2 separate regions of the Homo sapiens genome follow, and region 1 is linked to region 2. Evidence: promoter capture Hi-C in human tissues and cell types (Jung and others, 2019). All regions are on one chromosome and are shown on one strand. The core of a region is centred on a gene start or on the middle of the fragment in contact, and the rest is flanking DNA. Distances in the headings are between cores, read along the strand shown. Region 1 has its middle 26 kb from the start of GBP5. Region 2 holds the start of GBP1 (guanylate binding protein 1).

The links. Contacts are between HindIII fragments. The study calls those that stand out against the background at their distance.
Region 1: a contact is called between a fragment that was not itself captured here and the fragment with the promoter of GBP1 in region 2, in 1 of the 25 tissues and cell types used here (H1 embryonic stem cells).

What each region holds. Positions count from the first base shown.
Region 1 is chr1:89,245,013-89,248,408 of GRCh38, reverse strand. It overlaps the pseudogene LOC100421401. Among named protein-coding and RNA genes, the nearest start is that of GBP5, 26 kb to the left of the region's middle. The HindIII fragment of the contact is 3,645 bases long and covers 1-3,396 here.
Region 2 is chr1:89,063,656-89,066,749 of GRCh38, reverse strand. GBP1 (guanylate binding protein 1) reads left to right here and starts at 1,542. Exons shown (of 11, transcript NM_002053.3): 1 at 1,542-1,590. The region is part of intron 2 of LOC105378841 (a long non-coding RNA gene); the gene reads right to left. RefSeq lists an enhancer at 1,246-1,345. The HindIII fragment of the contact is 6,241 bases long and covers 1-3,094 here.

The DNA of each region.
Region 1 (3,396 bases), core at 399-2,898, 180 kb before region 2:
TTGCCATGAGCTGTGTGCAGACTAGGGTTAGGGAAGGGGTGATGCCAGAACTCCTTTAGCCACCTTAGCTGGTATCTCAGTAGGTCACATGCCCCACAAGTCTACTGGCTCTGGGTCCAGTTCAGCACTAAAATGCAGGGAAGTCCTGGCAGGATTCAGTAAACTATTCAAGAGTTGAAAGATAAAATAGCCGTTTTCAAAGAGAACAAAATTGATCTCAGAGAACTGAAAACTCACTACAAAAATTTCATAATACACCTTGAATTAACTTTTCTATAAGGTGTAAGGAAGGGATCCAGTTTCAGCTTTCTACATATGGCTAGCCAGTTTCCCCAGCACCATTTATTAAATAGGGAATCCTTTCCCCATTTCTTGTTTTTGTCAGGTTTGTCAAAGATCAGATGGTTGTAGATGTGTGGTGTTATTTCTGAGGGCTCTGTTATGTTCCATTGGTCTATATCTCTGTTTTGATACCAGTACCATGCTGTTTTGGTTACTGTAGCCTTGTAGTAAAGTTTGAAGTCAGGTAGCATGATGCCTTCAGCTTTGTTCTTTTTGTTTAGGATTGTCTTGGCAATGCGGTCTCCTTTTGGTTCCACATGAACTTTAAAGTAGTTTTTTTCCAATTCTGTGAAGAAAGTCATTGGTAGCTTGATGGGGATGGCATTGAATCTATAAATTACCTTGGGCAATATGGCCATTTTCATGATATTGATTCTTCCTATCCATGAGCATGGAATGTTCTTCCATTTGTTTGTGTCCTCTTTTATTTCATTGAGCAGTGGTTTGTAGTTTTCCTTGAAGATGTCCTTCACATCCTTTGTAAGTTGGATTCCTAGGTATTTTATTCTTTGTAGCAGTTGTGAATGGGAGTTCACTCATGATTTGGCTTTCTGCTTGTCTGTTCTTGGTGTATAGGAATGCTTGTGATTTTTGCAATTGATTTTGTATCCTGAGATTTGGCTGAAGTTGCTTATCAGCTTAAGGAGATTTTGGGCTGAGACGATGGGGTTTTCTAAATATACAATCATGTCATCTGCAAATAGGGACAATTTTACTTCCTCTTTTCCTAATTGAATACCCTTTATTTCTTTCTCTTCCCTGATTGCCCCTGCCAGAACTTCCAACACTATGTTGAATAAGAGTGATGAGCGTGGGCATCCTTGTATTGTGCTGGTTTTCAAAGGGAATGCTTCCAGTTTTTGCCCATTCAGTATGATATTGGCTGTGGGACTGTCATAAATAGCTCTTATTTTTTTGAGATACGTTCCATCAGTACCTAGTTTACTGAGGTTTTTAGCATGAAGTGCTGTTGAATTTTGTCAAAAGCCTTTTCGGCATCTATTGAGATAATCATGTGGTTTTTGTCGTTGGTTTTGTTTATGTGATGGATTGTGTTTATTGATTTGTGTATGTTGAACCAGCCTTGCATCCCAGGGATGAAGCCGACTCGATTGTGGTGGATAAGCTTTTGGATGTACTGCTGGATTCAGTTTGCCAGTATTTTATTGAGGATTTTTGCATCGATGTTCATCAGGGATACTGGTCTAAAACTTTCTTTTTTTGTTGTGTCTCTGTCAGGCTTTGGTATCAGGATGATGCTGGCTTCATAAAATGAGTTAGGGAGGATTCCCTCTTTTTCTATTGATTGGAATAGTTTCAGAAGGAATGGTGCCAGCTCCTCTTTGTACCTCTGGTAGAATTTGGCTGTGCATCTGTCTGGTCCTGGACTTTTTGGTTGGTAGGCTGTTAATTATTGCCTCAATTTCAGAGCCTGTTATTGGTCTATTCAGAGATTCAACTTCTTCCTGGTTTAGTCTTGGGAGGGTGTATGTGTCAAGGAATTTATTCATTTCTTCTAGATTTTCTAGTTTATTTGTGTAGAGGTGTTTATAGTATTCTCTGATGGTAGTTTGTATTTCTGTGGGATCTGTGGTGATATCCCCTTTATTATTTTTTATTGCATCTATTTGATTCTTCTCTCTTTTCTTCTTTATTAGTCTTGCTAGGGGTCTATCAATTTTGTTGATCTTTTCAAAAAACCAGCTCCTGGATTCATTGATTTTTTGAAGGGTTTTTTGTGTCTCTATTTCCTTCATTTCTGCTCTGATCTTAGTTATTTCTGCTCTGATCTTAGTTATTTCTTGCCTTCTACTAGCTTTTGAATTTGTTTGCTCTTGCTTCTCTAGTTCTTTTAATTGTGTTGTTAGGGTGTCGATTTTAGATCTTTCTTGCTTTCTCTTGTGGGCATTTAGTGCTAAAATTTCCCTCTACACACTGCTTTGAATGTGTCCCAGAGATTCTGGTCTGTTGTGTCTTTGTTCTCCTTGGTTTCAAAGAGCATCTTTATTTCTGCCTTCATTTTGTTATTTACCCTGTAGTCATTCAGGAGCAGATTGTTCAGTTTCCATGTAGTTGTGCAGTTTTGAGTGAGTTTCTTAATCCTGAGTTCTAATTTGATTGCACTGTGGTCTGAGAGATAGTTTGTTGTGATTTCTGTTCTTTTATATTTGCTGAGGAGTGCTTTACTTCCAATTATGTCGTCAATTCTAGAACAAGTGTGATGTGGTGCTGAGAAGAATGTATATTCTGTTGATTTGGGGTGGAGAGTTCCGTACATGTCTATTAGCTCCACTTGGTGCAGAGCTGAGTTCAAGTCCTGGATATCCTTGTTAACCTTCTGTCTCATTGATCTGTTTAATATTCACAGTGGGGTGTTAAAGTCTTCCATTATTATTGTGTGGGAGTCTAAGTCTCTTTGTAGATCTCTAAGGACTTGCTTTATGAATCTGGGTGCTCCTGTATTGGGTGCATGTATATTTAGGATAGTTAACTTTTCTTGTTGAATTGATCCCTTTACCATTATGTAATGGCCTTCTTTGTCTCTTTTGATCTTTGTCGGTTTAAAGTCTGTTTTATCAGAGACTAGAATTGCAACCCCTGCTTTTTTTTCCTTTCCATTTGCTTGGTAGATCTTCCTCCATCCCTTTATTTTGAGCCTATGTGTGTCTCTGCACGTGAGATGGATGTCCTGATTACAGCACACTGATGGGTCTTCACTCTTTATCCAATTTGCCAGTCTGTGTGTTTTAATTGGGGCATTTAACCAATTTACATTTAAGGTTAATATTGTTATGTGTGAATTTGATCCTGTCATTATGATGTTAGCTGGTTACTTTGCCCATTAATTGATGCAGTTTCTGCATAGCATCTATGGTCTTTACCATTTGGCATGTTTTTGCAGTGGCTGGTACCAGTTGTTCCTTTCCATGTTTAGTGCTTCCTTCAGGAGCTCCTGTAAGGCAGGCCTGGTGGTAAGAAAATCTGTCAGCATTTGCTTGTCTGTAAAGGATTTTATTTCTCCTTCACTTATGAGGCTTAGATTGGCTGGATATG
Region 2 (3,094 bases), core at 293-2,792:
ACAGTGTTAAGGAAGGATGATAGAAAGAGTTTAGATAAAATTATTTTACAAAGTATGAATGAGAAAAGACACTGTATCTGCAATTTATATACATCTAATATATAATTTTAATGTGTAAGTGAGAAATGCTTGGCCAGGCCTGGTGGCTCACACTTGTAATCCCAGCACTTTGGGAGGCCAAGGTGGGTGGATCATCTGAGGTCGGGAGTTCGAGACCAGCCTGACCACCATGGAGAAACCCCATCTCTACTAAAAATACAAAATTAGCCAGGATAGTGGTACATGCCTGTAGTCCCAGCTACTTGGGAGGCTGAGGCAGGAGAATTGATTGAACCCAGGAGGCGGAGGTTGCAGTGAGCCGAGATCGTGCCACTGCACTCCAGCCTGGGCAACAAGAGTGAAACTCCATCTCAAAAAAAAAAAAAAAAAAAAAGAAAAAGAAAAAGAAAAAAAAAGAAATGCTCACACAAGGTTGGGTCTGGTGGCTCATGCCTATAATCCCAGCAATTTGGGAGGCCGAGGCAGGGGGATCATTTGAAGGAAGGAGTTCAAGACCAACCTAAGCAACAAAGTGAAACCACATCACTATAAATATATTTTTAAATGAAATGTTCACTCAGGCTTTTTACTATTTTATTTGCTTTTGCTGTAAAATAGAGATAATGCCACTTATTCTGTATGCTAGAAGTCATTACTGAATTAGACATAAAACACAAACAGCTCTTAGAAAACAATCTATAAAAATAAAATCACACTATAATAAATTTAAAAATAAAAAACCTATAAATAAAATATTTCTACAATTTTTCACTTAGTAAATAAGCAGCATAGTGAAGTGGTTCAAGAAGAGGGTATGGGATCATGAGTGCTTGGGTTCAGATTAGTTACAGTGTTATGATTTTAGACAACTAATAAAGTCTTTCTGTGCTCAGTTTCTATAAAACCATGAGGAAATATTATGAGTTTTCAGTTGTGCGATTCATGTAAAGCCATCAGTACTGAGCCTAGAACATGAGTACAACACATGGAGCCCCCTCCTGGCTGTGTGCTGGGCATTAAGTGCCAGGGGTTAGGTGTTCATGAGTGTGTTAAACATGTCCTTTCCTTATGTACTGCACCTCTCAAAGAATAGGCAGCTCCATTGAGAGTGTGTCTATTATTTTAGGAAATTGTAGCTGAAAATTAACATGATGCCTCCTCATTCTAGGTTTCTCAAATTGACTCAATCCATGAGACATGTATCATTGTATTCAAAACCTAATGGGCATTTTGTTAGACAACAAATGGTCTCTAAGATTTCCAACAACAACAAAAAAAATTTGAAGCTTCTGGTTGAGAAATCTTTAAACCCTCCCACTGGCACACTCCACTAATTCCATTTATGGTAGTGGAGTCAGTGATTTGAACGAAGTACTTTCAGTTTCATATTACTCTAAATCCATTACAAATCTGCTTAGCTTCTAAATATTTCATCAATGAGGAAATCCCAGCCCTACAACTTCGGAACAGTGAAATATTAGTCCAGGGATCCAGTGAGAGACACAGAAGTGCTAGAAGCCAGTGCTCGTGAACTAAGGAGAAAAAGAACAGGTAAGAACTTTTACTACTTCTCATCAAGCAGCTTTCTCTCTAGCTCCAAAGGATCTCAGCTCAGTGATATGGAACCTATAAGGTTGTGGCAGGGATGGGAAGGAATTTATAAAGGTCAGTTCATTTTCTTAAACATCATCAGAACCAAATTAGGCTGCAGATGAGCCTGAAGTGGGACGCAGGTCAGATGAAATCCTGGTGTTATCAGGGACAGCATGGCCTTAAGTGCCACTACAGTGCTTGTGTTGAATTAGGCACCAGTAGACAGGGGCTAAACTGAGCATTTGAAATGTACTAGGATAGTCTTTCTCTTTGTTGACATTATCTATGTTGACTAGGGATATGATTACATTTCCATCGTCAGTGATGGACTGAATCCTGCTTCTATGCAGCTAAGAAATGGAAGAGTTACAAACGGGTTCTTTTCATGGAAGGAAAGAACAGCAAATGAGAAGCAGAGTAAGCAGCCCACTGACACGGTTAAAGACAAAGAAAAAACTGAAACTCAGCCTGAAAGATGAAGATTCATGAAAACAGTATACTTTTTATTACACTTGTGAACTTTGTTTCAGAATGGATTACTTTCTTTAGAAATAGTCCAGACTCACTAATTTCCTAGTGCCCACTGATCCCTGTCCCTTAGAAGTGAAATTCAACCCCACTGCTTCACTGAAGTGCTTCCAATTTTGTCTTCTTTTAGTAGAGAGCAGGGCCAAAAGTGTTTCCTCTTTAATTCTCCTGTAATGCATCTCTACAGAAAATATCTTTGCTTACTTTAACCTCTCCATGCACTCAGACTACTTTGATCCTGCCTTCTGCAAAGTCTTCCCCTGAATGCCTTGTCAAGACACTAGCCTCATTCATCACCTCTGGTCTGACAGCTCCTCTCTCTCTCTCTCTCTCTCTCTCTCTCTCTCTCACACACACACACACACACACACACACACACACACACACACATTCCCAGCCCCTTATCCTCCTCTCCACTCCTACTATTCCTCCTCTTTCTATTTCTCTTTCTCCTACCCTACCAAATGGAAAACAGAACAAAACAGAAATCCTAAAGCTGTATCGCTGGAAATATATTTTATTTGAACAACTTCCTAGGTAGCTCTCTTTATCTGCCTCTTGATCTTTTAATCCTTATTATCTGGAGGAAACATTCAGTATTTGCAATTTTGCATTCATACCCTCAGTGACTTAGAAGCTATCTTATCGTGACTCTAATGAAGCTTAAGTTTCAGGGCCCTTCTCTTGGACATGACCCTTAGGAGCCCTTGGAAGGTTCCCTAGCCATGTGTTTCACATGGTTGTATAGTTTTATAAAATTTGCAAAAGTATGTTACATTGTTACCACTTCCAGAATGGCAATGTGAGAAGCTTTGTCAATCCTCATTGCAGTGAAATAAGCATAATCATTTGAAGATGGAGGAAGGAACACATTTAAAAATCTTTGGAAATTTTTCTAAGGGTAAACATCAAACTATGAATACTGATTCACTGT